4 separate regions of the Homo sapiens genome follow, and all the other regions are linked to region 1. Evidence: promoter capture Hi-C in 16 types of primary human blood cells and fetal thymus (Javierre and others, 2016). All regions are on one chromosome and are shown on one strand. Each heading gives the region's core, a stretch centred on a gene start or on the middle of the fragment in contact. The rest is flanking DNA. Distances are from core to core; before and after follow the strand shown. Region 1 holds the start of C3orf70 (chromosome 3 open reading frame 70). Region 2 overlaps VPS8 (VPS8 subunit of CORVET complex). Region 3 overlaps VPS8 (VPS8 subunit of CORVET complex). Region 4 overlaps VPS8 (VPS8 subunit of CORVET complex).

What was found. Contacts are between HindIII fragments. The CHiCAGO score rates a contact against its expected background, and 5 or more counts as called.
Region 2: a contact is called between a fragment that was not itself captured here and the fragment with the promoter of C3orf70 in region 1, in 1 of 17 cell types (endothelial precursors). The highest score is 5.8, in endothelial precursors.
Region 3: a fragment that was not itself captured here is called in contact with the fragment with the promoter of C3orf70 in region 1 in 2 of 17 cell types (endothelial precursors and erythroblasts); the score reaches 8.8 in endothelial precursors.
Region 4: a contact is called between a fragment that was not itself captured here and the fragment with the promoter of C3orf70 in region 1, in 1 of 17 cell types (endothelial precursors). The highest score is 6.6, in endothelial precursors.

What each region holds. Positions count from the first base shown.
Region 1 is chr3:185,151,674-185,155,124 of GRCh38, forward strand. C3orf70 (chromosome 3 open reading frame 70) reads right to left here and starts at 1,387. Exons shown (of 2, transcript NM_001025266.3): 1 at 955-1,387. The coding sequence starts at 1,150. RefSeq lists a silencer at 793-1,012 and an enhancer at 1,433-1,572. The HindIII fragment of the contact is 2,735 bases long and covers 291-3,025 here.
Region 2 is chr3:184,955,633-184,958,735 of GRCh38, forward strand. It overlaps VPS8 (VPS8 subunit of CORVET complex), which reads left to right. Exons shown (of 48, transcript NM_001009921.3): 37 at 1,742-1,889. Among named protein-coding and RNA genes, the nearest start is that of VPS8, 150 kb to the left of the region's middle. The HindIII fragment of the contact is 2,259 bases long and covers 533-2,791 here.
Region 3 is chr3:184,911,435-184,914,983 of GRCh38, forward strand. VPS8 (VPS8 subunit of CORVET complex) reads left to right here. Exons shown (of 48, transcript NM_001009921.3): 26 at 2,085-2,127; 27 at 3,547-3,549. Among named protein-coding and RNA genes, the nearest start is that of VPS8, 100 kb to the left of the region's middle. RefSeq lists an enhancer at 610-1,173. The HindIII fragment of the contact is 1,830 bases long and covers 1,079-2,908 here.
Region 4 is chr3:184,927,679-184,931,119 of GRCh38, forward strand. It overlaps VPS8 (VPS8 subunit of CORVET complex), which reads left to right. Exons shown (of 48, transcript NM_001009921.3): 32 at 773-855; 33 at 1,902-1,986; 34 at 2,792-2,890. Among named protein-coding and RNA genes, the nearest start is that of VPS8, 120 kb to the left of the region's middle. The HindIII fragment of the contact is 5,283 bases long and covers 1-3,441 here.

The DNA.
Region 1 (3,451 bases), core at 137-2,636:
TCAACAAAGAAAAATTCATTTTAACTTAAGATCACTTGGAAAATGTCCTAAATAAGCACTCCAAAACCCTCTATTACAAATATATGTGGAAACTAACTTTAGAATATATTTCTTAAAATGAATGATTCATCGGATATAGTCCAAATACTATTAGCTAATCAAATTGTGAAATTCTAATTAAATGGCTACTTAAGTTTAATCTATTTAAAAATCACAGGCAGGAGGCTAAACACAGAGAAAGGGTTTAGACCATTTGGTTCTAGCTTTTATAAATTGGTTTAAGACTATTAAGCTTACTTTCACTCATTTTATTTTGTAATTTTATAAGTCTCATTTATTTGGCTCTAAATTCTACATCTGGGTATTTAAGGAGCTCGACCTTCCAAACTGTTAATATTAACTTCTTGGAAGCAATCCCTCCCACATTAGCGCTTTTTCTCAATTTGGGTACAATCAAGGGGGAAACAATTGGATATCCAAGGGCTCCTTCTTTTAAATAGCAGCCCAGGAAGACAAAAGTGAGAAAGAAAAAGAGGAGCATCTTTAACCAGCAACCTTGAAAAAAGGCATCCCCAACAGCTGTCGCCAACTCAGCTGGCTCGCTCCCATTTCTCAAAACACCGCCTGGACGCCTTGGTCAAAAAAAGAAAAAGAAAAGAAAAAAAACCAGATTCCCGCTTCCCTGGGACAGGGAGCTCCCTTTTGTAGAAGTAGCTAAAGAAAGCGAGGCGCCCCACGGGATTTCATCTCGTCGTCAAGGCAGCGCCAACCCCAGCCGTCCGGCGCAAGGAAAGCTCCGGCGGGCCCGGAGCCCACGGCGGCCCCAGCCTCCGGCAGAGCAGCCCCGGCAGAGCCCGGAGCCCCGCGGCCGCAGAGTTCCGGCAGCGACCCCGGACGGCCCGGCGGGCGTCCCCCGGACCGCGGCGGAAGGCGGGAAGACGCGGCTCGACTTACAGTGACACCATCCTAGGTGACAGCACCAGTGCAGCTTGAAGCACTTGCCATGGCTGTGCGTGGCACAGATAGACAGCCCGTCGCACGGCTGGAAGTCGGGTCTGCGGGCGGCGCAACTCCGCGCCAGGGCCTGAGCCTCATCTAGTTTCTCGCTCTTCCAACCCCGCTCCGACGCCGGCGAGGCCGCCGCACTCATTTCCTCTCCCTCCGCGCGGAGCCGACACCGGGAGCCCGGGAGAAGCGACGTCTGGGTGGGCAGGAAGCCGAGCCGGCTGCGGACGCGGGAGGGCGCGGCACGGGCCGGGAGTCACGCCAGCACGCGGCGGCGGCGGGAGCGCGGCGGTCCCAGGCTCGAGGAGGAGCCGCCCCGGGCGCTGCGACCGGGTCCGGGCTGGCAGCCTCCCTCCCTCCGGCGCGGCGCGCGCCGCGCCCCACGCGCACACGCACGCGCACAGGCGCGCGCCGGTCGGCCCCGCGCGACGTTCCTCAGCGAGCCCGGCCTTCTCACACACACGCCGCTGGGGAGCTTGGCCGTCGGCGTCCCCGCCGGTCACAGCGAGGTCCTCCTCACATACTCACTCCTTCCTCGGAGAAAGACCCCGACGGAGGGCCGTGGTGAACACACACTCCTCGGCCGCTTTGTACTCACATGCACGCCAGCCTACATATGCACTTCCCCCCGAGTGACACTGGCCACCGAGAACTGACACACGCGTCCACACGCTCCACGGAGGGCTGCGCACACCTGGCCCACGCCCACCCGAACCTCCTAGTGGCCCGGGCCGGGTGCATCGCGTAGCGAGGATCTCACACACACAGCCTGTCCCCACAGGCGTCTCACATCTCCCTCGTACACACCTCCCCGTGTCTGGGCATGGAGCCCCTGGGAGGCGCGCACACGCTCGTGCACACGCGCGCACTCCCCCCACCCAGGGCGGGCCTCCTGCCCCAGCGCGGCCACAGGGCGCGTCAGGGGCCAGCACCGCCAACCCCTGCCCGCCTCGCCCCAAACCCCAGGCCAGTGCGCCCGGGCCTTCCCGCGCCCGCCCCAACCTTCGCCGGGACCGCAGCCCCTCCCCCTTCTCCTCCCACCCCCGCCTCCGTTGAGCGGGAAAGCAACAAAGCTGGGTGCATTGATGTGTGTGTGTGTCTGCGTATGTGTAGTTTGGTGTGCATGGGATGTGTGTGTTGCGTGCGTGTGTATGATTATTTGGAGTATGTATGGTGGGTATGCGTGTGTGGTTGTGTGTGGTTAGGTGTGTTCATGGTACATGGTGGGTGGTATGCGTGATGCAAGTGACTGGTGAGGTGTGTGTATACGTGTGTATGTGAAATGAATGTTATAACTGAGGTGGAGTGTGGGTGGTGTGTGTGTGGTTGAGTGTGTGTGGCGTGCAGAATATGTATATGTGTGTAGTTGGACGTGCATGTGCTTGTGCACGTGTTGTGGGGGTGGGTATGCTTAGTAATACAGAGTGGTGTGTGTATGGTATATGTGTGGCAGTGCAGTGCGTGTATCTGGCATGTCGAGTGTGCACATGGCATATACGGATCAAATCGGGTGTGTGTGGTACATAGGAGTGGGTGGGCACACAAACAGGACTCATGTATGCGGAGGACTCTGCCTTTCTGTGTTAGCGCCTGCTCTGGCCAGCAGGTGTGACTGACCCTGTGGTGGCTGCGGCTTCCCCACACAGTTGGCTCGCACTCTTCCCTCCTGGGGACAAGTTGCTCCAAATAGATTTTCCATGCCAGGCTCTGCTGCTGAGAACCGACCCCAGGCTGGATTCACTGAAGAGGAAACAAACCATTTGCTCCCATGGTGCACTGCTGGGAATTAGTGTTTCCCTGCAACAAGGCCAGAACCCAGCCTTGAACACAGAAGAGGAGGGGACACCCCCTCCTTATTTGCCAAACGCACAGAAGAATGCTTGTTCAAGGAACAAGGCTTTCAGCACAAACACTGTGTGGGAACATGTTTATGCCCAGGTCCACTTTCTCCTTTATGCCTTTCCTGCTTTGCACTGACAAGAGACTCATCATGGTTTTGAAACAACCAAATTCATCCTCAAGCTTGAAAATCCTTGCTGCCATAAGCAATCTTTCATAATTTTCCCTTTTATGTAACCTTGGCTTGAGAAGGGAAATGTAATTTGCATATATCTGACTCTGGTGAAATCTTCATTTATTAGGGATTGGGGAGAGACTCAATTTGGCAGCAAAAGTATTTTCCAGAAAGGTCTGAATCAAAATCACAAACTCTAGTTCCCCCATTAACCTAACATTGAAACAGTTGCAAACATGAAGAATCATCTCATCAGCTTCCACCCCAACTGCTCCCCGCCTCAAAAAAATCCTAAAGGAATACATCTCTGACACAAAATCTATGCACCCCTGCTGTTAACTTCACAGTCTGACCTACCTCAGAATAACGGAAGTAAAAGGCAGAGAAATCTTAATCAAAGAAATCCATACTCCATTATTACTGCAGCAAGCC
Region 2 (3,103 bases), core at 412-2,911, 200 kb before region 1:
AATCTCTTGTCTCTGCACACAGGGAGAACACCTGCTAAGCCCCGTAGGACTGGACCCTACACGTTTTCCTCTGTTTGAAGGCAGTCCAATGTACTGTCTACATTCATTTCAGTTCAGTTCAATATATATTTACATCAGATTACTGAGCACTATTTATTATGTCTTAATGATGGGTAAACAATTATGAATGCAATACCATGGACTTTACAATGTGGTTGGGGACACACATACTTAAACATGATTTTCAAGTTGTGGGTGAGAACTAAGGTGGTGGTATACATAGGGAATGGCCAGTCACTGAACAAACTTCTGTATTAAAGGCAGTTATAAGATACAAAAAAAAAAAAGAACACTCTTTCTTTGGAATTTATAGCCAATTTGAGGAGATACTGAATTAGCCCATCAGCAAGTATTGAAAGTTCCAAGCAGCAGAATTTTTTTAGTTTATCGTTTACCCACCTCTGGTATCACAAAGCTCTTAAATTAGGGAAAATGCCCTGTGTCTAAATACAGTCTCTTTTTCTTTGACCCAAGCTTCTTATTAGTAAAAGTAGAAGCACTACTTACCATCACTTATGAATAATCACAAAATCCAAATTGTTCTTTCTGGAGTCCAGAGAGTCCCACCCTGTGGCTATTGATGTACTGTACATGGTTACAAGTGTGCCTGCAGACTGTCTCAGCTCTTGGGACAACCAGAGTCCCTTGTGAGCAATCTTACTTCACTACAGTGGACCAAACAAATATCTTATTTTCTGTGTGCCACAATATGAGAAAACCTGGAAACTACTTCTTTAGACCATGTGCTTTAACCTTTCTTCAGAACTGGGCTAGTTTTCCAAGCAATCATTGTTGTATCTTATTAACCGTATTCCAGTTATTTATATAATAATGAGCTTTAGTTGAGGAATTCCGAAGAGAAGATAGGACTCTCAGAAGGAACTAAGTTCTTTTGAAGCTAGAGAGAGGATGATTCTTAGGTCTCCAATGAACAGTTGATTTCCTAAGCAGCTACTTTCGGCCATCAGTAGTTGAGTGCTTGAGTGGCCAGTATGATGCAGTTAATACTCTACTTCCAAAACTTTTGTGTAGGCATTGTGAATAGCGGGCTATGTGAGTAGCTGGTGTACTAGGCAAATGAACCCATAAATATTGTGTATTTTAGTATTACTCCTTTATTTATTATAACAATAACCAAAAAAATTAGTCCTCACTATGTGCAAGACATTGGTTAGCTTCAAAAATTTACTACTGAGAAGATACCTGGTACCTACCCCTCACAGAATTTATAGTGTTTTAGAGAAGATAGATAATTAAAGAAGTCATTGCAATGTGATATGATTGGTGCTATGAAGAATATAAAGAAGAAACACTTACTGAGATTGGAAGATGGTTATATATAGTTACTTAGAGATCAAAGTATTAGGACTAAATTGGGTGGCTCTTGTTTCTTTTAGAATAAAACACAACTTTTGGTATGATTTAGAAGAGTTTCAACTGAATGTTACTTCCTTAATTATTCAACATAACCTGAGTAATATTACAACTTACAATGCCTCTTATGTAATGTACAGTTTGCTCAAGTAACCTAAATAACATTGAGACTTTCAATTCATATTTTTATCTGACCAGCAGGTAGTCCTAGTTTTAATGTAATGTGCTTTTTACTGGTAGCTTTTAATTATAGATGTGATTAAATAATGCTACAATTGAGTGTTCTCTTTATCTTTTATGTTTTTAGGGAAGGTATTCATGTAAATCAAGAATTACTGCAAATATCTCCTTGTATCACAGAGCAGTTCATTGAGCTGTTGTGTCAGTTCAACCCAACCCAAGTTATAGAGACTCTGCAAGTCCTTGAGTGCTACCGTCTGGAAGAAACTATTCAGGTGAGACGAACAATGTAAAAGAGACAAGAGTAAACTCTTCTTAACATTCTCCATTTGACAGATGATCAAAGACAAGGGGAAAAAATATATAATTTCTTTTTTAAACCTTATAAATTCTTAGTTGAGACATACTCCTGAAAACAAAAGTCAGATTAACAAAAGAAAAACAGAGGTTTATTGATATGTGCTATACCCATCATGTAGGAGAGACCTCAGTTCAAAAGTATCTTTCTCAAGGCAGTGGCTTAGGGGCTTTGCTTAAACTGTATTTTAACAAAGAGCCTTAAATCTTACATAGTGACAAGACAGGAGAGAGCAGTTCCAGCCTAGTAAAAGGTGGAAACATGTATGGGAAGATAGTCAGCTGTGTTCCCAGATTCCTCCCGTGCCTGCTGGTGCCTTCTCCGGGCCAATAAGCAAGTGCTATCTCCAGTAAAGAATGTATGTCCTGCTATCAGGCAGATAGAGGCGGGAGCAGAGGATTCCCCTGCATTTTCATTGTCTTTAACTTAACAATCCTCAATATTTGGGGGAAACATATTTTGGTTTTGTTCAGTGCCCCCTTTGAAACTTTACTTTTAGAAAGTTTCACATATTAAACGCCGGGTGGGTAACTGTGGAGAGATTTGGGTTAGTGGTTTTGACGTAATAGATTGGCAGAGGGGAGAAAATCATAGATTGGAACAAGTGGAAAGGAACAAATTCGGGTACATTGTCCCTTATTGAAACAATCTCTTGGTTGTGAAAATGGGTCAGTTTAGTTAAATAGTTGCATCTCATTTTAGGAGGTGGTGGTGTTGTAAGTGTGTTTCCGACAAAGGTATAGGCACATAGGCATTTAATAAAAGACATTTCTATAGAAACAAAAAGGAAACAAAAGTTAATGTTTGGAGCAGTCTCTAAGCTTGTCTCTCAGTCTGGAGGGGAGCCAGCTGAGAATATTTCAAGATTTGTGTTTAAAGTATCTATAGTTGGGGTGGAAGTAGGAAATGGCAATCGGACAGATTTTCCTGGATTGCCGTTTGAATGAGGTGTTCCAGTGAACTTTCTGTCCATAAATAAGTTGTGGTGATTCCTCCAAAGTTAATATCAAGTTGTCTAGCTTTAGTGTGCAGAGCTTCAGGAAAAGCAGTTTTAATTTCAGTGATTCCAAGTCAGAAAAATGGGAGAAAATGTTCAAATACTAGTTTGGAGAGTTGGTCAGATATTGGAGG
Region 3 (3,549 bases), core at 744-3,243, 240 kb before region 1:
TTTACCAAGGTTGAGGACACACTAGGAGAAACATACACAAGCTACAGTAGGATCTTCGGCCTGTGCTTTTTCCACAGAGGGTTTTGAGAACTTCAGTGTTTAAAGGGTAGAGAGTGGGCAAGAGGGAAAAGAGGAACAGTTAATTATGCATTTGTCTCATGCTCAGTGAATCTGCATTTTACAGAAGGTAATGTAATGCCCAACCTTGTTTTCACTAACCCTGTTTTTAGACTCTCCCTTTTGCTCTCGTAATCACCTAGCCTTGTTTCCACATGAATAGACTCCCTTAGCTGAGAAAGCTGGACGAGCTCCATCTGGCCCCCTTGATTTACAAGACATTAAGGACTCCTTACCCACCCCTCTTTCCTCAAGGAGTTAACCTGTGTAAGCAGATTGTCAACATATCAAAGGAGTCCAGTTAACTGATAAGGTACTGGAACAAACCATGTATGAAGTTCCCAGCATTTTGCTCAAAAGATAACACCATAAAGCCTTCAGTTTGTGTCCGGCGTAGTGCCCATATCTAACTCTTATGAAGGATTTAGAGCCCCGCACCTGGTACCTTGCTTTTTTTGTAACCATTTGTCTTTTAAATTGTTTGTTTCCCTGTAACCATTCGTCCTTTTAATTTTTTTGCATGTTTTTACTTCTGAAGAGTTGTTGCATTTAAGCTCCCCTCCCCTTTCTAAACCAAAGTATAAAAGTTAAGCCCCTTCCTCGGGGCCGAGAGAATTTTGAGCGTTAGCCTTCTCTTTGGCTGCCGGCTGAATAAAAGACTCTTAATTCGTCTCAAAGTGTGGCGTTTTTCTAACTCGCTCAGGTACAACAGTAAAGTAAACATAGAATAGAGGAAGAAGTCAAATATGCATTTGTCTTGGGATGGGCTGAGGAATAATTTATAGTCTTATCTTTGTCCAGTGCCTGTGAAGATCAGCTATTAATTTACATTGTCAGGGTGAGGGAGGCCAGCTGGGGAGACATGGCCTTCTATCTTGCAGCAATCTGTTTAGGAACCAAAGGTAGCCAGGATTTTCGTTTGTTTGTTTTTGTTTTTGTTTTTTACATGACTCAATTCCGAAGCTTAACTTTTCCTTTTGGCATAGTGAGTTTGGGATTCTGAGACTTTATTTTTCTTTCACTCGTGTTTATCTAGTTAGCCAATAAACATTAAGTTGTTATGCCATGCAGGTGGTGATCACCATGTGTCATACGAGTTGATGTGAATCAAATGACATTTGGAATGGAAGCAAAATGTAGTTATTCATACATTTGGAGCAATTCATGTTTACATGCACTAACAACATCACAGATTTTGAGTATTTGTGAAAGATTACTGATAAAGGCATACACTTGCTTGCATTATGTCCAGTATTCATATTACCAAAAATAGAAACTCCAGCTCTTCATTATTGCCAACCACAGATTCCCATCATCTGTGCGCTGTGGGCGTTCCCAGTCACTTCACCCTGTTGATGCTCCTGCTCCATTCTGTATTGCCCTTGACCCCTTGGCTTCAAACTTTGTCATATTATCTTTCTGATTTCTTTAGTCAGAGAACAGGCTCGTATCACAAGATGGCAGAATCTTACATTTTTTATGTAACTTAGAATAGAAAGGGCCCTAAAGATCATTTAGTTTAGTTCTGTTACTTTAAACATTTGGGAACAATGGCCTTTTCAGCCCTAGAGCACGGTAGGTGGTAAAAGTCCATATTACAAATAAGAAGACAGTATGGTTATGCCTTAACACTAATTAATTGGTTCTGATGTACAGTTCATCAGCTCATTGCCTGCCCTACACCTTCCCTTGGCCCCAAGTTAGTTAGGCCAACAGTACATAGATCTCTACCCTCAGATCTATTCCTTCTACATCTATCTTAGGGTAGCTTATATTGCTCTTGTGTCTGTGACAAGAATCTAATGGAAACTCAAAAGCCAATAAAGTGGTCTTAACTTCCTGTTATTTGGGAATATACTTACCTCACCTTAAATGCCAAGTTTTATTTTTTTGTTTCTACATAAAGATTATTTTTCTGAAAAGGTTTTGAGAGAAAATTGCTGAAGATACTTCTCTTTCTATTTTAGATGAACAAGTTGTTATGGGCAATAAGCTCCTTGTATATATTAGGTAAGATTGTTTTATTTATTCATCTGCATGTATGTTCTTTCTATATTTTTCCTATATTTTTAGAGATACTATGATCTCTTATCTATATAGTACTTTTAATTTTGCACAATTCTTTTATGTAGAGCAGTGGTTCTCAACCATGGATAATTTTGTCTCCTACTCCCTGGAGATGTTTGGCAACATCTAGAGACATTTTTGGTTGTTATAACTGGGGCTAGAGAAGGGATGCTACTGGTATCTAGTGGGCAGAGGCCAAGGATGCTGCTAAGCATCATACAATGCACAGAATAGCACAACAAAGAATTATCTGGCCCGAAGTATCAGTAGGGCTGAGGTTGAGAAACCTTGGTGTTGAAACCCGGGTTTTTTATGTTTACTAGTGACACCTATGTGGGATGTGTATTGTTTCTACATATGAGGGCAAGAGACTTGTTCAAATCATGAAAAAGTTAGTAACAGAGGTAAAACTAGAATGTTTATCTCCTGACTCCTGGAGCAGGGTTCATTCTAGTAGACTATGCCAGCTCAGAATTGAGCCCTGATAGAACTTTTCGGTAGATGACTATTTGTCAGGAAGGTGGCAGAACCTAGCAGAACATCATTTGAGCTCATATCTAATGTCAGAGTTAACTTTGAAACCTGTTTCACACTTGTTACATTGATTCTTTAGTGTGAAAGAAATACGCATTTACTTAGTGCTTTATCATCTGTACCTTAAACTCTTCAGGATATGCTGGTGTCCAGTTGTCTCCAGTCTAACATTGAAAATTGTAGTTTAAAAAGCTTTAAAATTTGCTCCCTCCCCGCCAAAAAATAGAAAAAAGGTAGACATGTTCAGATGACATTTGTAGTAATTCAGCTCACAAGGCAAGTCTTTAGCCATGAAGAAGGTTTGATTTGGAGGTAAAACTGTAGGGTGAATTTCTCTTCAGATTCTAATTCTCCCCGGTTTGTCCTGTCGCAGACTTCCCAGACATTTAGCCTCTTTCCCCATCTTTAATACCATTCTTAGAGACCCTGGTTTAACAGTATCTGAGAACGCCAGGCTTTTAACAGATTAATCATAGTATAATGGTGCCATTAGGCACCATCTTTCTAGACGCTGGGTATGAGGCCTTTAGAAGTCTGTCCTCATTCCTTCTTGCCCCTTTAATAGAGCATTGGTTTTTCTTAGGAAACATACGAAGAAACGAAAGCTCCCACTCAGTCACAGGATGCATTACCTCACCTCCATATCTGTTGCCCACATTTTCTAAACTGGGTGTCATCTTGACCTGCTTTGGAACTTGACCTAACTGACAAAAGCTGAGCCTACTTACAAATTGAACTAGTATCTCAAGTTTGAGAAACAATGTGTTACTCGCTTGAAAGTTATCCCCTTTACAAGTCACCATATCCATTCTCATTCTTTTCTTCTAGCTG
Region 4 (3,441 bases), core at 547-3,046, 220 kb before region 1:
AACTCTTTTATCTTCCCAAACTGAACTACCATACCAATTAAATCATAACTCCCACTCCCTGTTTTCTCCTCCCCAGCCCTTAGTAACTACCAGTCTCTATGAATTTTACTACCTTAGGTCCCTCACGTAAGTGCAGTCACAATACTCGTTCTTTTGTATTTAGCTTATTTCACTTGGCAGAATGTGTTCAAGGTTCATCCATGCCGCAGCATGCATGTATCAGGTTTTCTTCCTACTGAACAGTATTCCGTTGTATGCATATACTACATTTTGTTTATTCATTCATCCACTGAGGGCCATTTGGATTGTTTCCACCCTTTGGCTATTTTGAATAGTGCTGCTATGAAAAGCCCCAATACTTAATTTTTAAAAAATTAACATGTAAACATGGATACCAGCTGTGGATAGACAGATTGTAAAGAACCGTAAGACATAAAAGTGAGATAAAAATTCACTTCTTGAAAGATATATATGGACATTTTAGCTTAGCAGAGAGTCAGCTCAATGTCTAATAGGGCTTTATTTGTAAACACTGTGGCGTTCTTTCCATGTTTGGAAAGCAGAGCCATTTATCTTTTTATAGGGCTTAAATGCAGTATGATCAAGTTTATAATGTCAGTCTAACCCCTTCCATATGTGACAGCAAGCCAAAATATCATCAACTAAGAATACAAAAGAAAAAAATTAAATGTTATAGTCTGCATGGCTGAATGCACTCTTAAAGAGCTAGTAAATTCTCAAGTGTTTTTACTCATTTATTGTAAATACTCAGGTCCTTTTAGAATTGCTGCAGGCTGGAGGCATAGTTCAATTTGAAGAGAGTCGACTCATCCGGATGGCAGAAAAAGCTGAGTTGTAAGTTGTTTTGAGGCTGTATATTAGTTTGCCATAGAAATATTAAATTATATTTCTTTAACTTAAAGCTCAGTTTATTGATACATTGCTGCTTTTTTAATTAGGAAAGATTATACAAATAACAAAAAGCTAAGGGTGAAAATTTTTCCCTTTTAATTGAATTCTAGAAATTAGTAAAATTTGCAGAAATTGATAGGGCAGATATGAAACTTTTATATAATTGTTTAAACATAAAGTGAAATAGTCTTATGATGTTTTATTATTTTAGATTTTTTCTTTAATATTTCCATGTTTCATAAATTGTTGATGGTTATCTTAGATATATTAGAGACAATGCAGTATTTGACGTAGTAAATAAGATGATATGATCACATTGCTACTTACCTAGTATGCTGTATTTATATGACATGTAATTCTGAACAGAGGAACTTTATGTAAAATTTTTGTAAATTATCAATTAATATCTAACATATTCACTATTTCTTATGTGATACACTATTGTTTTAGTATTTCCTTTGTATTCAGCATTGAAATTTTTTATAAACATAATATTTAGCAGCCTCTTGAACCTATAGTTAAAGGTTAACGGCAAATACTCATCTCCCTTAGTTATTCACTGTAACTTTATTTAACAATAGAAATCACATCTACTATATTAATTTTTCTTTTTTTTCTTTTGAGACAAAGTCTCCCTCTGTTGACCAGGCTGGAGTGCAGTGGTGCGATCATAGCTCACTGTAGCCTTAACCTCCTGGTCTCAAGCAATCCTCCTGCCTCAGCTTCCGTAGTAGCTCAGATGACAGGCACATGCCACCATACCTGGCTTTTAGTTTTTTTGTAGAGACGGGGTCTTGCTATGCTGCCCAGGCTGATCTCAAACTCCTGGTCTCAAGCAGTCCTCTTGCCTCAGCCTCCCAAAGTGCTTGGATTATAAGCATGAGCCAGGACACCTGGCCCACTTTTCCTAATACTAACCTGTGTGCCAGAGCAAATGTCTCAAAAACCTCCCTGTTTGGTACACTGAAGTTTTTCCCTTTACATTCTAGCTATCAAATTTGTGAATTTATGTATGAAAGAGAACACCAATATGATAAAATTATTGATTGCTACTTACGTGACCCTCTGCGAGAGGTGAGTCAAGATACTGCTTTACTCTTTTTTCTTACTCAACTTTCCCTCTTATTGAGTACAAATAACTGTTGAGTAGAAATATTTGCGCATGTGTATGAGCCAAATACACATTGATAATTAAAACAGATACAGTTCTTGCAGTTTTGGAATGTATAATTTAGTGATGGAAACTGACAGTAAACAAAGTCAAATATGATTACAAATTGGGATAAATGCTAGGGAAGAGAAACCGAGTGCTACTTTAGAGGATGATGGGGAACTGACTTACACAGAGTAGCCAGGGAAGGAATTTCAGAGAAAGTGACATATAAACTGAGTTTTGGAATTTGAGAAGCCAGTGAAGGAAAGAGCCAAGAAGAGTGTTCCAGGATGGGTAACTGTATATGCAAGAGACCTGAGGTGGGGAAAATTGACATGTTCAAGGAGCTGAGTAGAGATCATATAGATGAAGTGAAAATCAGTATAGGTGGAGCATAATAGACAAGGGCAGGAGTGGTTTCTGCTGAAATTGGGAATGTGGACAATGGGATCCCCAAAAGCCAAAGTGTGATACTCCTTCATTAGGTCACTGAAGATTAATAAATTCAAACCAAAATTAATTAGAACTGATTTTTTGCTTCTAAGAGTCTACCCTAAATTTTAAACAATTACTCTTTATTTTTAGGGACAGAGTTTTCCATCAGTTAACTATCTCCAGATAATTTTTCATCTTCAGATAATAGATGTTTACCAAGACTGGTTCAGTTGGTAGGGACTAAATCTTGAGTGAGTGAATGAATAAATTATATTGTCTTGTGCTCTTCAGGAAGAAGTCTTTAATTACATTCACAATATCTTATCCATTCCCGGACACAGTGCAGAGGAGAAGCAGTCTGTATGGCAGAAAGCAATGGATCATATTGAGGTACTGATGCGCAAAACTTCACACTTCACCATCTGAACGATCATCTAACCCAAGTTAACTTTATGCCAACGAAGCAATGGCATGTATCATATTAAGTTGATTTAATTTAGGGTTGAAATCTTTTTCGTGTAATTATTCTACCTCATATTTGTATTCATAAAGTCTGTGTCACATGCAATCTATTACATCATGACTTCTGAAACTAGCCCATGTTCAATCAGCCAGTGACAAACTATTATTAATGCATTTTTACAAAGTTCATAGAATGATTCTGAGAGTACTGCTTGTCCTTTTTTCCTAATATGTGATGAGTGCCATTCCCTCCAATCATCTAATGGACTTTTAGAAAAATTACTGCAATGAGTTTTCTCTCTGATGTGTTTCTCTTCCTTATATAACAGGATGATGATTCTGACCTAGCTGTGGTCAGCTAATTCACTGATTTTGTTGATGCCTGCTATTTTACAGAGGATGCAAGTATTCACTTCTATTGAAACAAAAAGTTCCTATTAAGAAACAATGCTTCTAGATATACAAATAGACTACTTGCG